Linked DNA regions of Homo sapiens: regions 2, 3 and 4 are each linked to region 1. The links are contacts of gene promoters, found by promoter capture Hi-C in blood cells and fetal thymus (Javierre and others, 2016). All regions are on one chromosome and are shown on one strand. Each heading gives the region's core, a stretch centred on a gene start or on the middle of the fragment in contact. The rest is flanking DNA. Distances are from core to core; before and after follow the strand shown.

What was found. The method cuts DNA at HindIII sites, captures the fragments that hold promoters and counts their contacts. A CHiCAGO score of 5 or more calls a contact.
Region 2: a contact is called between a fragment that was not itself captured here and the fragment with the promoter of ASB14 in region 1, in 1 of 17 cell types (M2 macrophages). The highest score is 5.7, in M2 macrophages.
Region 3: a contact is called between a fragment that was not itself captured here and the fragment with the promoter of ASB14 in region 1, in 4 of 17 cell types (total B cells, endothelial precursors, M2 macrophages and 1 more). The highest score is 7.0, in total B cells.
Region 4: a contact is called between a fragment that was not itself captured here and the fragment with the promoter of ASB14 in region 1, in 1 of 17 cell types (naive B cells). The highest score is 5.3, in naive B cells.

Annotation. Positions count from the first base shown.
Region 1 is chr3:57,290,566-57,294,983 of GRCh38, reverse strand. ASB14 (ankyrin repeat and SOCS box containing 14) reads left to right here and starts at 2,299. Exons shown (of 11, transcript NM_001142733.3): 1 at 2,299-2,351; 2 at 2,880-3,072. The coding sequence starts at 2,951. It overlaps DNAH12 (dynein axonemal heavy chain 12), which reads left to right. Exons shown (of 74, transcript NM_001366028.2): 74 at 1,013-1,284. The coding sequence ends at 1,203. LOC124909384 (a long non-coding RNA gene) reads right to left here and starts at 2,193. Exons shown (of 2, transcript XR_007095923.1): 1 at 1,592-2,193. The HindIII fragment of the contact is 5,614 bases long and covers 1-2,698 here.
Region 2 is chr3:57,893,063-57,897,480 of GRCh38, reverse strand. SLMAP (sarcolemma associated protein) reads right to left here. Exons shown (of 25, transcript NM_001377540.1): 16 at 890-970; 17 at 549-608. Among named protein-coding and RNA genes, the nearest start is that of FLNB, 110 kb to the left of the region's middle. The HindIII fragment of the contact is 1,317 bases long and covers 1,259-2,575 here.
Region 3 is chr3:57,862,757-57,867,174 of GRCh38, reverse strand. SLMAP (sarcolemma associated protein) reads right to left here. Exons shown (of 25, transcript NM_001377540.1): 11 at 2,459-2,627; 12 at 2,318-2,368; 13 at 1,883-1,933. Among named protein-coding and RNA genes, the nearest start is that of SLMAP, 110 kb to the right of the region's middle. The HindIII fragment of the contact is 770 bases long and covers 1,742-2,511 here.
Region 4 is chr3:57,841,894-57,846,311 of GRCh38, reverse strand. All of the region lies in intron 4 of SLMAP (sarcolemma associated protein), which reads right to left. Among named protein-coding and RNA genes, the nearest start is that of SLMAP, 88 kb to the right of the region's middle. The HindIII fragment of the contact is 3,716 bases long and covers 542-4,257 here.

The DNA of each region.
Region 1 (4,418 bases), core at 1,050-3,549:
TCTCATTCTTTTGTTTTCTCTTCCCTAACTTTTTAATTCTTAAATAACAACAATTTCTTAAAATATTTACTGATCACCCAGAATCACCATCCAACCTATCAAATATTCTCATTACGAATGTGGTTCAGTTATAACTATGAGAAACGTGACCTTAGTTTGGAAAGACTCTTAATATCTTATATCTGGCTTTTTGGGGATTGTATATAGTTTCTTTTCATGAATTGGTAAGAGTTGACATGTTTTTCTTATTATTTACCTGCTAAAAACAAATAGAAACGTCAGCTTCTTCTAATGTGTGGGTTTCTTGGATTAGAGCTCTAAGCAGTTGTATTTCTTCTTTTGAGTCTCCCCCACTACCTATACTGTATTTTATTCCTTCTTCCCTCCCTTCTCATTCTCCCCTCCCAAATCCTCTTGAGTTTTCTCATGCCTGCTAAGCGGTCAGAACTTTAAAGTCTATTCCTGTCTTCCACACCTAGAATCATGCACCATACGAAATACTTGCCTTGGGCTGGGCGCAGTGGCTCACGCCTGTAATCCCAGCACTTTGGGAGGCTGAGGCGGGCAGATCACGAGGTCAGGGGTTCAAGACCAGCCTGGCCAACATAGTGAAACCCCGTCTCTACTAAAAATACAAAAATTAGCAAGGCATGGTGGCAGGCACCTGTAGTCCCACCTACTCAGGAGGCTGAGACAAGAGAATCGCTTGAACCTGGGAGGCAGAGGTTGCAGTGAGCCGAGATTGTGCCACTGTACTCCAGCCTAGGTGACAGAGTGAGACTCAGTCTCCAAAAAAAAAAAAAAAAAGAAAAGAAAAGAAATACTTGCCTTGTTTCACAACCGTAATACTATATGTACTGTAAAAAAATATATATGCTGTAAAACCTTCATATATCACAATTATGATCTTAGATTTAGTTCTGGCCATTTTATTACAAGATAAATAGTTCTTTTCGTACCAATGGCTGTTTTTCCCTTTATCAAGTGAATATATTTCTTTTTTTTTTTCAAGCTCAAAAATCTCGGATTATAAAGTCGGATGCCTATGTCTGTCCCCTCTACAAGACAAGTGAACGTAAAGGAACTCTTTCCACTACGGGACATTCTACTAACTTTGTCATTGCAATGTTGTTAAAAACAGACCAACCTACTCGGCACTGGATCAAGCGCGGGGTTGCTTTGCTTTGTCAGTTGGATGACTAAATTGGACAAATTTATAAAACATCCAAAAGTTTAAAAAAAAAAAAACCTGTCCTACTTAAAATATATACATTATAAAACCAAGTGTTTTGGTGTTATTCTTTTAAATGATCTTTGCAAACACTCATTGCATTGTTCTCCTTTCTGAGGAGAACTTTTTGAAGTTTGATTGTATGTGAAAAATAGATTTGGGGGTTAAACGGTAACATTTAACAAATATCAGGAATTATCTCCTTCACAAATGTTAAGTCATTCCTTCAGCTTCAGTATAGTTTACTTTCCACTCTCCTACCTAAAGTAATTATACATAAATATTTCAAATACATAAATTAAGAAATTATAAATATGGAAAATATTAAAAGTTACCCAACTATACCTCTTTATTTCTTACCTCTAAGACATCGGTTCCATTTCTCACTGCATCCTTGTGACTAGGAAAGGAAACTCAAAGCTGCGAAGTTGGCCTGCAAAGGCAGTAGGATGGCTTGAGGGCAGTCCGAACTTCTACACCTGCAGTGACAGTGTGCTTCTCGGCATTTGCTTCATATTTAATTTGAAATGTCAAGTGGTCCCTTTGCTTTTTTTAGTGTATATTAACAATTTAAAAATATTTCAACAAAACAGAATTTTGATCAAAATTTTATCTTGTGTAGAGTGAATTCTTCCCTTAGGATTCCAAGGACACTGAAGGCCACAGTTCTGTAACCCAAGGAAAATGTAGTCACAGCTACCTAGTGAATCTAGTACATTGGGACAGTCACTTTGGATAATTGGGTCAGAGCAAAATGTTTGGGTTCTCTTAAGTGAAAAATTGATTGTGGTTTGCAGTGGCTATGTGCATGAATTCTCTTTGCATGGCCAACCCCCTGCAAAAGCATTTTATTCCAGGAATAAAATATTTAATCCTTTAAATTTGATGAATGTAGCACTGAAGAAAAGAGATCATGTTTCCAAAAAGAGCTAAACCACATGTAAAAAACAAGGAGAATGTGCCAAACTGTCTTATGATGAAGTATTTATAGTAAAGCTATTAATGGAATGGTCACTACAGGGGAGAGGAGAGCCTAAATATAAATGAAAATTCTGAGGCTTACATGTGTTAGTCCTTAACAGTGAAAACTTCACTGCTGTCCTAGAGGATAAAACAAAAGGTAAAAAGTCTTTGAAATGTGACCAAATGTATTCTATGCTAAAACTGACATTTTTCTTTTAAAACCATTTAGATATTGCCTAGTAAGATACATTTGTTTTTACTACTGCTGTATCCATGTTGTAATTATGAGAATACATTTGTTCCTATAACATGTTTATTTTTAATGTATATTAAGTAAAATATTATTTTCAGCATCACACTGTGTGTAGGAAAGATATTATTTTGGATGAGTGCTACAATCACTGTGAAAGACTCACAGCCAAGTTGAACAGATCAGAGTGTTGTCAGTGTTAGAGTGGCACTAACCGAAGTCTTATTTGAAAGGTGGTTTTTCCTGAATAAGCTTTAAGTCAATGGCTACTCATGGAAACTTCTAATTTTTGTTGAATCTGTGGCAGTCCACAAAACTTTTTTAAGTTTATAGAAATTTTTTAGTGAATATTTTGTTTCCTAAATTTTGTATATTTTTCATTGTTAATCCTACCAATTTTCTAGATTTCTGAATTTCATTTGTAATTTTAAGCAGTTGATCTCTTCACAACTGGAAAAATACTTTTAATTCACTCTGACTTTAAAGTAAACCTGTCCACGTTTCACATGGATAATTACACCAGCGATGAAGACATAGATGAAGACTTTGACACCCAGCTCATCATTCAACAGAGTTTGCAGGATATTTATAAGCCAGGAACAGCACAACATGCACCTAAGGATGAGAGGTAATGGTTTTCTCATCGGCAATATAGTATTAAGTGTTGTATTCAACAGCTGACACTTGTCATTAGCTTAACTCTAGTGTTGTGACAAAAACAGGAGGGTCAGAATCCAAGGAGCTGTCAATTAAATATCTGTAAGATATTATGCCTAACTAGACAGGAATAATCTGGAAATAATTCAGAATTTAATTAGGCAATAAAAATATCTGAAGGAGGTTAGCAGCAAATCTGGGTGAGGTGATACAGACTGGAAATCAGAAGAAAGAAAGGAGGATATGAAGGGCTAGAGAAAAACTAATACATCTTGTCTTTGGGAATTGAAGAAATGCATAAATCCAACCGGGACACATAGAAAGTTAGTTATCTTCAACCTTAGTAGGGTAGGTGGGGATGGGGTCCAGTCTTTGATCTACTCAAATCAAAAGGAGGAATTACATAAACTTGAACAAGGCTTCTGAAAGTGTAGATTCAGAGTTTTGTTGGACAACACTGAAAAAGGACCAGTGGGACCCTGTGTGGGGTGTAAGAAGAATCGTCCTGGATATGGCACACCTGCTCACACGCTCGCTGGCCAATCAGCAACCTTGGTCTCCTGAGGCAGTAACCATCATTTTTTCAGGGGTGATAACCCAGTTTACTTGGGATGGTAATCTCTATTTGCCTGCTGGATGTAAAACTAGAAAAATGTCTTTTAACCCCAAGAGATTTCATAACTAAATAGAGACAATGAAGTACATCAAACCTATATAGTATTTTTAAAATGTAACAAACCATGGAGTGATCACTATGTGTCATGTTATTTTAAGCACTTCATAAATACTAACTTTTAAATTCTAATTCTCATTACCTCTCTATGAGGTAGGTCCTATTATTATCCCTACTTAGAGAGGAGGAAAGTGAGGCACAGAAAAGTTAAGTGGCTTACCCAAGGTCACAGAACTAGTAAGTGAAGAGCAAGGCAGTCTGATTCTAAAGTCTGTGCTCTTAGCCACACACTATTCCTATACTTTTGTGTTCAATTTAGGATTAGTTTTTAAAATAATCTTTAAATATTTAAAGTTTTGTAAAGAAATTAGCCTTATTAGATTATCTGTTATATTAACCTTATGATTAAAACCTTAAATTGCATAATTGAGTAACTGACTTTGAACTTACAATTTTAGGTTGAAAGGTATAAGAGAGTTGGGCTAAGGAGAGTATTGAAATGTTTCAGAGAAACTGAAATTGACTGTGGTTATGCATTTACTTGATTAGATTTGCAGGAAGTGTATGATACTTAGGCAGGCTTGCTGATTTAGTCAGGTACTTGAAGGAATTAGAAAACTAGAACATACTTGTGACATGTGGAG
Region 2 (4,418 bases), core at 668-3,167, 600 kb before region 1:
AGATGATCCACCTGCCTCAGCCTCCCAAAGTGCTGAGATTACAGGCGTGAGCCACCATGCCTGGCCATCCACCTAAAGTTTCTTAGCCCAAAATTTCTAGAAGAGTGTCATAAGAACCTGGGGATATTTATTAGAAGATGAAGAAGACCAGAAAATAAGGAAATTTACAACTGCTACCATATGATAACAGAGTAAACCGGTGAGTCTTTCAAGAAAGTTAAGATTTTCACCTTATTCTAATTATGTTAAAAGCGCTAATAAATTCCTATTAGAGACACAAGGGTAAACAAAAAACACAGCTGCATTTCATATTCTACCACTTAACACTTTGTCCCTCGTAATCTTGACTGATCCAAATTATTCAACAATAGTTTGAAATATTGGGTATAAACACCAAAACTTTAAATTTTTAGTCCCTGCTACTTTACAGAACCTATCTTAATCTCTTAACTAAAAATTAAAACTTCACATAATATCTAGAACAGATTTTATGGCAAAGGGTGATTTGATACCCTGGTTTACGATGTCATAAAAACATGTTAAAGTACCTTTTAAAAGGGACACTTTGGCAAGAGGCTCATTTAGGTCTTGCTCATCCATTTGGGCGTCTACAGAGAGGAAAAAAATACATATATAATTACAGACAGTATTCAGATCTATCAGCAAGCTATTGTTATCAAAACAAACAATTGGAATTGATACAGCTATTATATTCGGGTAGTTGAAAGTAGTTTTAACAAAATATCCAGCATTCAAAGGGGATGACTTGATAAATGGAAGCGTTTTTTTTTTCCCCAAACACATACTTTGAAATCTCCACTCACATTGACCTATATAACTAAACTGCCATTAACAGCTGCAGGTCTGTAAACATTAGGTTAAAACTCACCTGTAGTGTCGTCACTGCTTTTTTCCTTGCTTGGACTCAGAGTATCTGAAAAATCAGATTCTTTTGCTCTTGTCTGATTTTCTACCAAGAAAAAAATAAAAGTAAAATCTTATTACAGTTAAATATCTTATATCAATAAAACTGCTTCAGGCTATGAATGCTCAAAATCTACAGGTACGCAAAGTACTTTTAAAATAGGTCAGGTCACTGAATCTCTTACTTCTTCACCACCCTTGTCCAAAATGGAATGCTGGTTATTACACGTAGCTCATATTAAATTATAATGTGGATCATGTCTGCTTTGCTGAGGGCTGGGGCTTTTGTTCAAGGCTGTCCACTTGCCAACTGGAAACAAAAACGAAGCAAGCTTTGCTAAAGTATTCAAAGAACTGCAACAAATATAGTACAATTCCCAGGACAATGCAGACACTGTATAAAGATGATTAAAGGAGAAGGCTCTGTTACATAAAAACACTAGTAAGAAGGCTGCTTTAGTAAGATTTGTACTCAAATAATAAAACTCTTAAAAAAAAACCACGATCAGTTCTTATAAAAAAGTGCCACTTAAAATAAGAAAATTAACAGCCTTTTATTTCTAAAGATAACTGTCCCTGAATCACAGTAAGAAAAAACTTTTTTTTTTTTTTTGAGACAGCGTCTTGCTCTGTTGTCCAGGCTGGAGTGCAGTGGGACAAACACAGCTCACTACAACCTTGACCTCCTGGGCTCAAGGGATCCTCCTGCCTCAGCCCCCTGAGCAGCTGGAACTTCAGGACCATGCCACTATACCCAGATATCTTTTTTAAATTTTTAGTAGAGATGAGGTCTTGCTATGTTGCCTAGGCTGGTCTCAAACTCCTGGGCTAAACTGATCCTCCCGTCTCAGCCTCCCAAAGCACTAGAATTACAGGCATGAGCCACTGCACCTGGCCAAGAAAAAACTTTTTAAAAAGTTTAGGGCCAGGCGCAGTGGCTCACGCCTGTAATCCCAGCACTTTCGGAGGCTGAGGTGGATGGATCATGAGGTCAGGAGTTCAAGACCAGCATGGCCAAGATGGTGAAACCCCATCTCTACAAAAAATACAAAAAATTAGCTGGGCATGGTGCTGGGCACCTGTAATCCCAGCTACTCGGGAGGCTGAGGCAGAGAATTGCTTGAACTCGGGAGGTGGAGGTTGCAGTGAGCCGAGATTGTGCCACTGCACTCCAGCCTGGGTGACAGAGCAAGACTCTGTCTCAAAATAAAGAAAGAAAGAAAGAAAAAAAAAGTTTTGAAATTGTTTACAAGAGGTCTTCTGCCTGGTCCAATGAAGCCATCTTAGGCCTAATTTTCAAAGAACTGTCCTCAGAAATCCTAACTATAGGCCCAATAGTTTATTAAAGATGACTGGCAATTAATTAGGCCCCAGATCCTCATCTGTAATGGCACATCTGTACATACTATGGAATTCCTTTCTTTTTTTTTTTTAGAGGGGGTGTCACTATGTTGCCTAGGCTAGTCTTGAACTCCTGGGCTCAAGTAATCCTCCCACCTCAGCCTCCCAAGTGCTAGAATTACAGGTGTGAGCCACCACACCTGGCCTATGGCATTCTTTAGGGTAGCATTTGCAGAAAATGTCATTTCTCTGAATGAAATCCTATATGGAAATCCTATCTCCCCATTCTCCACAAGGCCTCAGTCAAGCTTTACATAGCAGAATTTAGCCGTAATCTGGTCCCTACATTATTTCCCACAGGAGCTCTGCTCTGGTCATGCTAGCTTCATTATAGGGCTAATACATGCCTGCATTATGTCCTGCAATTATTTGTTTGATTCAATATTTCCCTAACCTCAAAAGAGCCATTTTCTCTACTTGGCCTATTCATTCTGTAATATACAGTTTAAGTCCCATCAACTCTAAGGAAGTCTTCATTTCTCCACCATGGTGCTCCTTTTAATTGTATCTTTGTGTCTTTTGTTTCCTCAATTAATCATACTTTATTTTGTATTATTCTGTGTATATGTATATATCTTCTTTCCTTAGTGAGATTATAAATTTATAAAGCATATATTTTTATAATGTTACAGACCTGATTTCACTGTTTGTACATGCATGCCCACTTCTAGTACTTTTCCTAAAGGAAGTAACACAGCACATATGCGATACATAATGCTCACTGAAGTATTGTTCATTATGGGAAAATGAAATACATATATTATGGAATGAAAACTATTCAAGATATATTTACTACTAAGTAAAAAGCCTAATAAAGAGCAGTATGTATAATATGACCCCATGTAGATTAAAAATAGTTATACATTTATCTATGAATTTTTAATTGCATATATTTATTCAAGGTCTGGAAGGATCTACAACAGAGACATCATTAGTTATTTTTGGGGATAGGGACATGGTGGACATTTACTTTTTAACTTCACATAGTCATACACTGAAAAATTTGTAGATATATATATATATTGTTTTAAAATCAAGGAAATTAAAATATATTTTCTATTTTGAAAGAAATTAGAAACACATCTAAAACCATTACTGTCAAAATATTTAATACAACATTAAAATATAACTTGTTATGGCTATTCCATATAAGAATACCCCCAGAATTTGTGGCTTAACTTGTGAAATGGGTGATGAATTTCAAGAAGTCTTTGCTTCTTTTCTCACTGCCATTTGTAGTCAAAGGTCAACTGCTTAGTGACGGGGAACTTAGATTAGAAGTGAAGTCACTGGCCATGGAGGCCCATGGGAATCTAATCTGTGACCGCTGCTGCATTCATAGTATGCTAAAATCAGACATTTCTGAATGTTCTAGTTTCGATCACAAAGTTACATTCTCAAATAAAAGAGGCTAATACATCTAATCTCCATATATGGTTACAAAAGGAACCACTCTGGAAGAACAAAAAGGAAAACAGGAAAACAGCTCTCCCTGATTTTAATATTTTTGGCAATTTTAGGATTAAAATATTAGGTAAATAGGAAGTATATTTGCAAAAGTATTCTTCTAGCCTAGAAGGAACTCTTACTCTATATTTAGAGTATTAGCTGGGAAGGTAAAGTTGCCTTAAAGGTAGGGCCAAATTTTCCATCAAGATCTCATTGGAATATAACTCCCTGATGGCAGAGATTGCCTGTTTTTTTTTTTTTCTTTTCTTTCTTTTTTATTTTTCAGACAGGGTCTTGCTCTGTTGCCCAGGCTGGAGCACAGTGGCACAACTGCAGCCTTGGCTTCCTGGGCTCAAGCCATCCTCCCACCTAAGCGTGCTGATTAGCTGGGACCACAGGTGTGCACCACCACATCTGGCTAATTTTTTATTTTATTTTTTTGAAGAGATAGGGTCTCCCTATGTTGCCCAGGCTGGAATGTCTGTTTCATTAACTGCTATATTCCCAGTGCACAGAACAGTGCCTAGTACCTAGTAGGTATTTTTTTTTAAAGGATGATTGAAAGCATATATCTACTCTGAATAAGAAAGCAACTTTGGTAATCCCAGCACTTTGGGAGGCCGAGGCGGGCGGATCAAGAGGTC
Region 3 (4,418 bases), core at 877-3,376, 570 kb before region 1:
AAGAGTCTCACTCTGTTGCCCAGGTTGGGGTGCAGTGGCACGATCTGGGCTCATTGCAACCTCTGCCTCCCAGGTTCAAGTGATCCTCCTGCCTCAGCCTCCTAGAGTAGCTGGGATTACAGTAGCGTGCCACCACGCCCAGCTAATTTTTGTATTTTTTGTAGAGACAGGGTTTCACAAAGTTGTCCAGACCTTGGTGGTCTTCAACTACTGACCTCAAGTGATCCACCCGCCTTGGCCTCCCAAAGTGCTGGGATTACAGGTGTGAGCCACTGCCCCGGACATGATTTTTTTTTTTTTGAGACAGGGTCTCACTCCCATCGCCTGCAGTGGCATGATCTCAGTTCACTGCAGCCTCGACCTCCTGGGCTCAAGTGATCCTCCCACCTCAGCCTCCTGAGTAGCTGGGATTACAGGTGTGTGGCCACCATGCGTGGCTAATTTTTGTATTTTTTGTAGAGATAAAGTTTCACCATGATGCTCAGGCTGGTCTGAAACTCCTGAGCTCAAGCGATCTGCTTGATCGCAATGAATATAAACTACACCTTTAAAAATTCTCAAATTTAAATTCCATCAAATTGGAATTTTAAAAAGTCAATGCATTTTACAAAACATACGTAGAATAGTCAAACAGCAATGATTAATGAACATTTTTCTTGAGAGTTTCAAAATTCATTACATATGCAAATAAGGTTTTGACCTTGCAGCTAACATACACACAATTACCTGAGCCTATACTGCCAGCTCTTGATTAAAACCTGACCAAACAAAACCAAACCAAAAAAGAACCAAAAAACCCACCTCCTAACTCTACCAGTTTGATTGCTGCCCAAGAACTATTATGATATCCCTTGATACATGGAAAAAATATTTTGTCTTTTCTTTTCTTTTCTTTTCTTTTTTAAAGACAGGGCCTTGCTCGTCACCCAGGCTGGAGTGCAGTGGCACAATTATGGCTCACTGCTGCCTCAACCTCCTGGGCTCAGCTGACCCTCCCACCTCAGCCTCCCACGTAGTTGGGACTACAGGCGCACACCACAATGCCTGGCTAAGGGAAAAAATATTTAATAAGTTCTGGGTATCAACTCTGATATCTTCGACTAACTTCTGTAGAAAACTGAGATGAAAGGCACATAGATTGGTAAACACAGAAAAGAGTTTAATTTCTACTGTACTCCAAGCACCTAGCGCAGGGTCTGGCACATAGTTGGTGCTCAATTAATGTTAGATGGAAGGGGAGAGAAGGAGAATGACTAGGGATCTTCAAGACTGAAGGATAATAGAGGTCACTGGGTAAAAAGTACCCCGTGTAGTGACAGGAAAACCAATAGTGGCTATATGTTTTTGGCAAGAGAGAACCCACGCTGTCCAGAAAGAAGGGTCACAGAACCAACAACTAATAAAAGATTTTTCTGATGGCAGAAAAAACTGACCCTGTTCTCTCTGATCAATGAAACAGATGGATAAACAAAGTAGTTTCTATGATATGTCCAAGGGCTCAATAAGCTGTTAAATAAACTCGAATGTTTTAAATGGGGGTCAAGTATCACTGGAGGCAGAACTTGATGAAACAAAATGGTAGTACAGCTCTTCGAAAAACAGAGTGGGGAAAAAGATCTATATTATATATTGCTAAAGGTGAACTTAATAATTTTCTGATTTGAGTAATTGAAATTTCCATATAACAAGGGATATCTAAGAATTGATCACAGCATCAACTCTTACAAAATAAAGGAAAGCTTGATTTTTAAATGATGGGGTTCAATGATCTGTGAGAGCATGCTTTTCATTCCAAACACTTAAAACCCTGAACTCCTTATCCTGCTTAAATACTAAAATGATATCATAAAAAGTATATATATATTTAAGTTTTTTACACTACCTTTTTCTGTGCTCCCATTTATTTTAGGTAAGAAGTCATCAACTTGTATCCCTAGGATTAAGACAGTATATCATTGCCTGATCAAAGAAGTATTACTTTAAATGTGGTCTCAAGTGTAACCATGGCATTCTGCATTCCTAAGATTAAGATTGTATAGAACACTTTAAAAGGGATCCTGCTGTTCATGTACTTTTCTTATTTAAATATCCCGAGGTAGAAGATCTCAGAGCAGAAATTTCACTCATCTCAAGGAAAACAATGGTGCCCACTGGTGGCAATCAAGCATATTTTTAAAGAAAATTTTCTAAAAGAATATAGATACTTTATACCTAATACATAAAACATCCCTTAAAAAATGCAGTGTGAGACAGTAAACAAGGTCAAAAGTTTAAGGATAAAATTCAGGTTTAAGTAAGAAATATGGATGCCACCTACCCAAGCTGCTGCATTCTTTAAGAGTTTTCTCCTGAAGATGTTCTAACCGTACTGTAAATAAAAGTCCAAAAAAAAAAAAGATATTTCACAGATAACAAGAAAAAAAATAAAATAAAATCAATTTCTGGATTAGCTACTTACCTTGTAAAGCTGTTAGCCTTTCATTGGTGAAATCATTATCAGCTTGCAAAGCTTCTATTTTTGCCTGGAGCTCCTGTTCTTTTTCTTCCATTTCATCTATTTTATGTTGTAATTCTTTTTTCTCAGCCTGTCCCTTCTGTTGGATTTCCTCTTGTTTTCCCTCTGCTACCTAGAAAAATAAGAAAATTCAGTTATTTAACAAACCTAACTCTGTTTTAAGAGCGAGCCCCAGGAATGCCTTTATTCACTTAAACTTCTAAGAAAAGTTTGTTCTGTAGAAAAGAAATGTTCTACAGAACATTATCTGTAAACCTGACATTTCTTTCTTTCTTTTTTTTTTTGAGATGGAGTTTCACTCTTGTTGCCTAGGCAACCTCCGCCTCCCGGGTTCGAGTGATTCTCCTGCCTCAGCCTCCCAAGTAGCTGGGATTACAGGCATGCGCCACCATACCCAGCTAATTTTGTATTTTTAGAAGAGACGGGGTTTCTCCATGTTGGTCAGGCTGGTCTCGAACGCCTGACCTCAGATGATCAGCCCACCTTGGCCTCCCAAAGTGCTGGGATTACAGGCATGAGCCACTGCGCCCGGCTAACCTGACATTTCTAAACCAGTAAAGATGATAAAGACAAAGGCTTGATGTCAAAAATTATCTGCATTGGGTTATTCCTCCATAACACCCAGGAGAGAGAAACTTGGAGGAAGCAAGTAGGCTCAGTACACACAGAGGTAAAGGGTCAATGTGGAAAAAAAAATCGTATTTTTAAAGAGGGAAGTAAGATTTTTCCCTAAAATTACTATCATTTCAATTTTGAAGTTCTATCATGTTAACATTCTGAAATTTTAAACAAAATTATTTAGTAACGAGATGACAGTACAATCACTATTCAAAAAGACCTCTCTGCCTATAGTTTGGATGTTCGTCCCCCAAGCCTCAATGTTGAAATTTGATCCTCAGTGTTGGAGATGGGGTCTAATGAGAGGTGTTTGGGTTATGGGAGCAGATCCCTCATGAATGGCTTGGTGCTGTCCTCATGGTAATGAGTGAATTCTCACTCTATTAGTCCTATGAAAGCTGGTTTTTAAAAAGAGCCTGGCACCTCTCCCAGACCCTCTCTCACCATGGAACACGTACCAGCTCCACTTTGCTTTCTGCCATCAGTGGAAGCAGCCTGAAGCTTCAGCCTGCAGAACTGTGAGCCAAATAAACCTCTTATCTTTATAAATTACCCAGGCTCAGCTATTCCTTTATAGCAACAAAAATGGACAATGACAATCTCCTTTTAACAAGACCAACTTTGAAAACTATCATAGGTTAACCAACGGAGGTATGCTCTGGTCTTCTCTAACAAACACATATCTTCTAGGCACTCAATCCATAGTTTGAATTAAACCAAGATGGACCTTCACAAACAGTTATAAGATTTTTTTTTTCCTCAGTTATAAGATTCTAAAGGACCAACTAGACATTACCCTATCATTACCCTATGATCTGATCTGTCCTTATCCTAGATGTCTCATAGATAGAGGGAATGGCAGCTAAAGCAGAGTTAACAGCATCCCTGAAAGCTAAAAGGGAGATCATTCCCAGATTCTCTCTGGGCTTGTTCCAGCACAGCACTAAATAGCTGGGCCCTGCCTTTTAGATGGCCTAATGATAAGCAGTTTTAGGTTTTAAAACATCTGAATATCATGGGTTTTGCTGATTCTCATCTACTTCCTGTTATATATTTTAGAAATGTCTATTGTGAAGCACTGACTACATATTCATCCAGAGGAACTATGTCAGCATTTACAGGCTTTCAATTATCTATAGTAATGGAGGTTGGGCTAAATGGAATACAGACACCTTATTTTCACTATAAATTTCAACTGTTACCAAATTTTTACATCAATAACTATTCAGCAATACCTAAAATCTTTTTTTATAGAAATCTTATTTAATATGTAGTACCACCTACA
Region 4 (4,418 bases), core at 1,150-3,649, 550 kb before region 1:
CATTAATTGGTACCAGTTGCCTTGTTGGCCTGATAACTACTGCTGACAAAAAGGTAGTATAGCATCTCAGAAATTATACTGGGTCCAAAATCTAGCTCTACCCACCAGCTGAAAGGCAAATTGCCTAATCAATATAGGTCTCAGCTTCCTCATGCATAAAATGAGATAATCGAGTCAGGCACAGTGGCTCACACCTGTAATCCCAGGACTTTGGGAGGCCAAGGTGGGCGGATCACGAGGTCAGGAGTTCGAGACCAGCCTGGCCAACACAGTGAAACGTCATCTCTACTAATAATACAAAAATCAGCCAGGTGCGGTGGCATGTGCCTGTAGTCCCAGCTACTTGGGAGGCTGAGGTGGGAGAATCACTTGAACCTGGGAGGCAGAGGTTGCAGTGAGCCGAGATGATGCCACTGCACTCCAGTCTGGGCAATAGAGCAAGACTCCATCTCCAAAAAAAAAAAGGTGGGGGGGAGATAATCATACAACCAATTCCATGGAGTTATTGGGGATATTAAATGTATTCATATGAATAAAAGCTTAAAACAGTGCTTTGGAAATGGACTTGATCACTACTATTACTCTCATGAGAATACAGCAGCTAAGGAAGCTGGAGTCCCTATTTTACAAATCCCTGTAAGATACTGTTTATGTTGGGGGTGAGTACAGGGGACTCAAAACAAGGCTACCACGCATGACCTCTACCAGCTGCTAATCACTCCACATCCTAGAGGCCATTCTTATAATGGTTAGCTTGAAGGTTGACTGAGTAAAGTTCTTAGCTTGAACTGATAAATCATATGTAAGCTGCTGAAAAACTGATTAGATGTGAGTTAAAAATAGGAATAATTTTGATCCCACCTTAATAACTGCAAACACTGTAAGAACTGGTCTAATTCAACTAGTCACAAATACACTAAAATGCTGAATAAAATGGAATATTAACTACCAGCACCCACCTCCCTTCTGAGCACCCATGATACAGACTTCATTGAGCCTACATAAACTTTACTGTCCTTCTTTGATTATACATCTGTGTTCTCAGGAACTATGACCTATTCACCTGTATATGCCCAAAGCCCATCAGCAGGCCCTAACAAAGTTGGTGCCTAGTAAAGATTTTTTTAAAATTATGTATAACTTTACTCCAGAACATTGAAATAGGCATTTTAAACAATAATTTATTTTTCTTGAATATAACAAATATTGATTATGGAAAATGTGTGAAGTAAATCATGAGGAAATACATAAAAATTACTCAATACCAGCACTCAGAGATAACCATTGTGGGTATATATCCTTTTCTCTGCAGATATGCACATATAGTGAAATGAACTTAAGAATGTCTAAATGCCAGATGATTTGAGGTTAGGAGTTTGGGAACAGCCTGGCCAACATGGTGAAACCTGTTTCTACTAAAAATACAAAAACCAGCCGGGTGTAGTGGAGGGCACCTGTAATCCCAGCTACCTGGGAGGCTGAGGCAGGAGAATCACTTGAACCTGGGAGGCGGAGGTTGCAGTGAGCCGAGATCACACCACCGCACTACAGCCTGGGCAACTGAGCAAGACTCCATCTCCAAAAAAAAAAAAAAAAAAAAGTCTAAATAGAAACAAATGGTATAATAGGGATTTTTTTTTTAATTCACCTTTCTTAGTGACCCAAGTATAAAATCTTCTCATAACAATCCCATTAATAAACAAATGGCTAAAAATCCGGCAACACATTCCATAAGTGATATACATCTGTATTTTACAAAAACTACCCTGGATATAAGTATATTCTGAAGTATGAATTAAGTTCATATGCATATACAAACCATAAGAAGGAAATGTGGAAAATGAAAATAGTTACTTAGTGTTAGAGTGGTGGGATTATATGCAATTTTTTTTTTTAATTTTTAAAATTTTTTTTTGTGGAGACAGAGTCTCACTCTGTCACCCAGCCTGAAGTGAAGTGGTCTGATTTTGGCTCACTGCAACTTCCGCCTCCGGGGTTCAAGCTGTTCTCGTGTCTCAGTCTCCTGAGTAGCTGGGACTACAGGCGCTCACCACCACGCCCGGCTAATTTTTTGTATTTTTAGTAGAGACGGGGTTTTGCCCTGTTGCCCAGGCTAGTCTCAAACTCCTGAGCTCAGGCAATCTGTCCGCCTCAGAGTGCCAAAGTGCTGGGATTACAGGCACGAGCCACCTGCGCCAGGCCTCTCTGTTTCTAATCATTAGAAAATGGTTGGCCCAGGTGCAGTGGCTCATGCCTGTAATCCCAGCACTTTGGGAGGCTGAGGGGAGCAGATCACCTGAGGTCAGGAGTTTGAGGTAGCCCGGCCAATATAGTGAAACCCCATCTCTACTGAAAACACAAAAATTAGCTGGGCATGGTGGTATGCACCTGTAATCCCAGCTACTTGGGAGGTTGAGGTAGGAGAATCACTTAAACCTGGGAGGTGGAGGCTGCAGTGAACCGAAATCATCCCACCGCACTCCAGCCTGGTTGACAAAAGTGAGATTCTGTCTCAAAAAAAAAAAAAAAAAAAAAAGAAAGAAAAGAAAGAAAGAGAGAGAAAGGGAGAGAAAGAAAGAAAGAAAGAAAAAGAAAGAAAGAAAGAAAAGGAAGGAAGGAAGGCAATTATTGGCTGGGCCTCTTTGTTTCTTATCATTAGAAAATTATTGACCAGGCCTCTCTGTTTCTTATCATTTAAAAATTATTGGCCAGGCGTGGTGGCTCAGGCCTATAATCCCAGCACTTTGGGAGACCAAGGTGGGTGGACTGCCTGTGCTCGGGAGTTCAAGAGCAGCCTGGGCAACATGGTAAAACCCATCTCTACTAAAAGTACAAAAAATTAGCTGGGCGTGGTGGTGTGCACCTGTAGTCCCAGCTGCTCAGGAGGCTGAGGCACAAGAATTGCTTGAACCCGGGAGGTGGAGTTGCAGCAAGCCGAGATTACTACACTCCAGCCTAGGCAACAGAACCAGGCTGTCAAAGAAAAAAAAAAAAAAAAAAAAAAAAGGAAAAGAAAGAAAGAAAAAAGAAAACAAAACAAAAGGAAAATTATTTGTGCAGTGTAATAAAAATTAAGGAAGGAAAAAAGTCAGCTTGTTGAGTACTTACTATCTTCTGAAGTTCTTAAAAGCAATAAATGCTATGTACACAATGGAACTTAAACTCTAGGCTTTCTGGCATACCCAAAAGCATCTTAATGCTTTTAAAAATTAGTTTACAGTAATAGAAACAGCTAAAGTTTATTGTGTGCTTATTATATGCCAAGTACTATGCCAAGTTCTTTAAGTACTAAATCTTGTTTAATTCTCATAAAATTCCTGTTAAATAGGTACTATCATCATCTTCATATTTCAAATGAGAAAAATGTTGCCTGATCAAGTCACAGAACAAGTGGAGTCAGACTTTAAACTGGACTACCCAACTCTAAAGGCCATTCTGATCTTCCTCCAGCTCTGGAGAATTGCTTGTTCAAAATTCATCTTCTCCAGAAAGTTAGATTATGTATAACTATATTGGCAGCAAAAATTTAAGTGATACTAATATTTAACCATATAAGAAAAGACAAACAATGAGAAGAAAATGGGCAAAGATGAAAAGAATTAGAGAAACACAAAGGATAGAGACACAATACATTCCAACTGACTTTGAAAAAATTTACAAGTTCTACTAGATGGAACCTGAGAACACAGATGATTCCTTACGTAACTGTTCAAAGTTTTCAAACTGCATGAAAGAAAAATCTCATTATCAAATACAAACATCAAGGTCTTTAAGAAGCAATATATCATTAGTTGATTAATAGTTACTCATTTCTAAAACCTTAATTCTTAACTCTTAAAAGCTAAGTTATATTAAACTTCCTAAAGTTTATTTTAATTTTAATAATTAAGCTGTAATCGCAAATAGAAAACACATTAATGTTTTAAATTTACGATATTACTTCATATGCCAAGGACAAAAAAAAAGGAAAAAAAGAATTAAAATGTTTTAAAACCTATGCTATTTTGCTTCAGATATCTTGAAAAGTAAACAAACAAGGAAAAGTATGTGGCTTCTAACAAGCATAAAATAAATGATTCTACTGAAAGCACGGACAGTAATGGGAGGGCCTCGCTCTGCTTAATCTTTCCTTCTCACTTTCCTATTCAATGCTCTACTTTTCCTTCAATTTATTGCTTCTCTTAACCTCCTACCCTCAGGTCACTGTCTCTGTTTTTGAAAGACAGGAAAATATTATGTTGGGTATAAAAACAAGCTTCTAGCATATTCAAGGCTTTTCCCACAAATAAAAAATGTTAAGTTTAAAGATTGCTCAACTCCCTTCAACACTTCATAATAATAATCTCTGAAAACCCCAAGATCAAAATGTACTTACATATGCTTTTAAAAATCTAGATTTTATGGGTAATTTTCCCTTT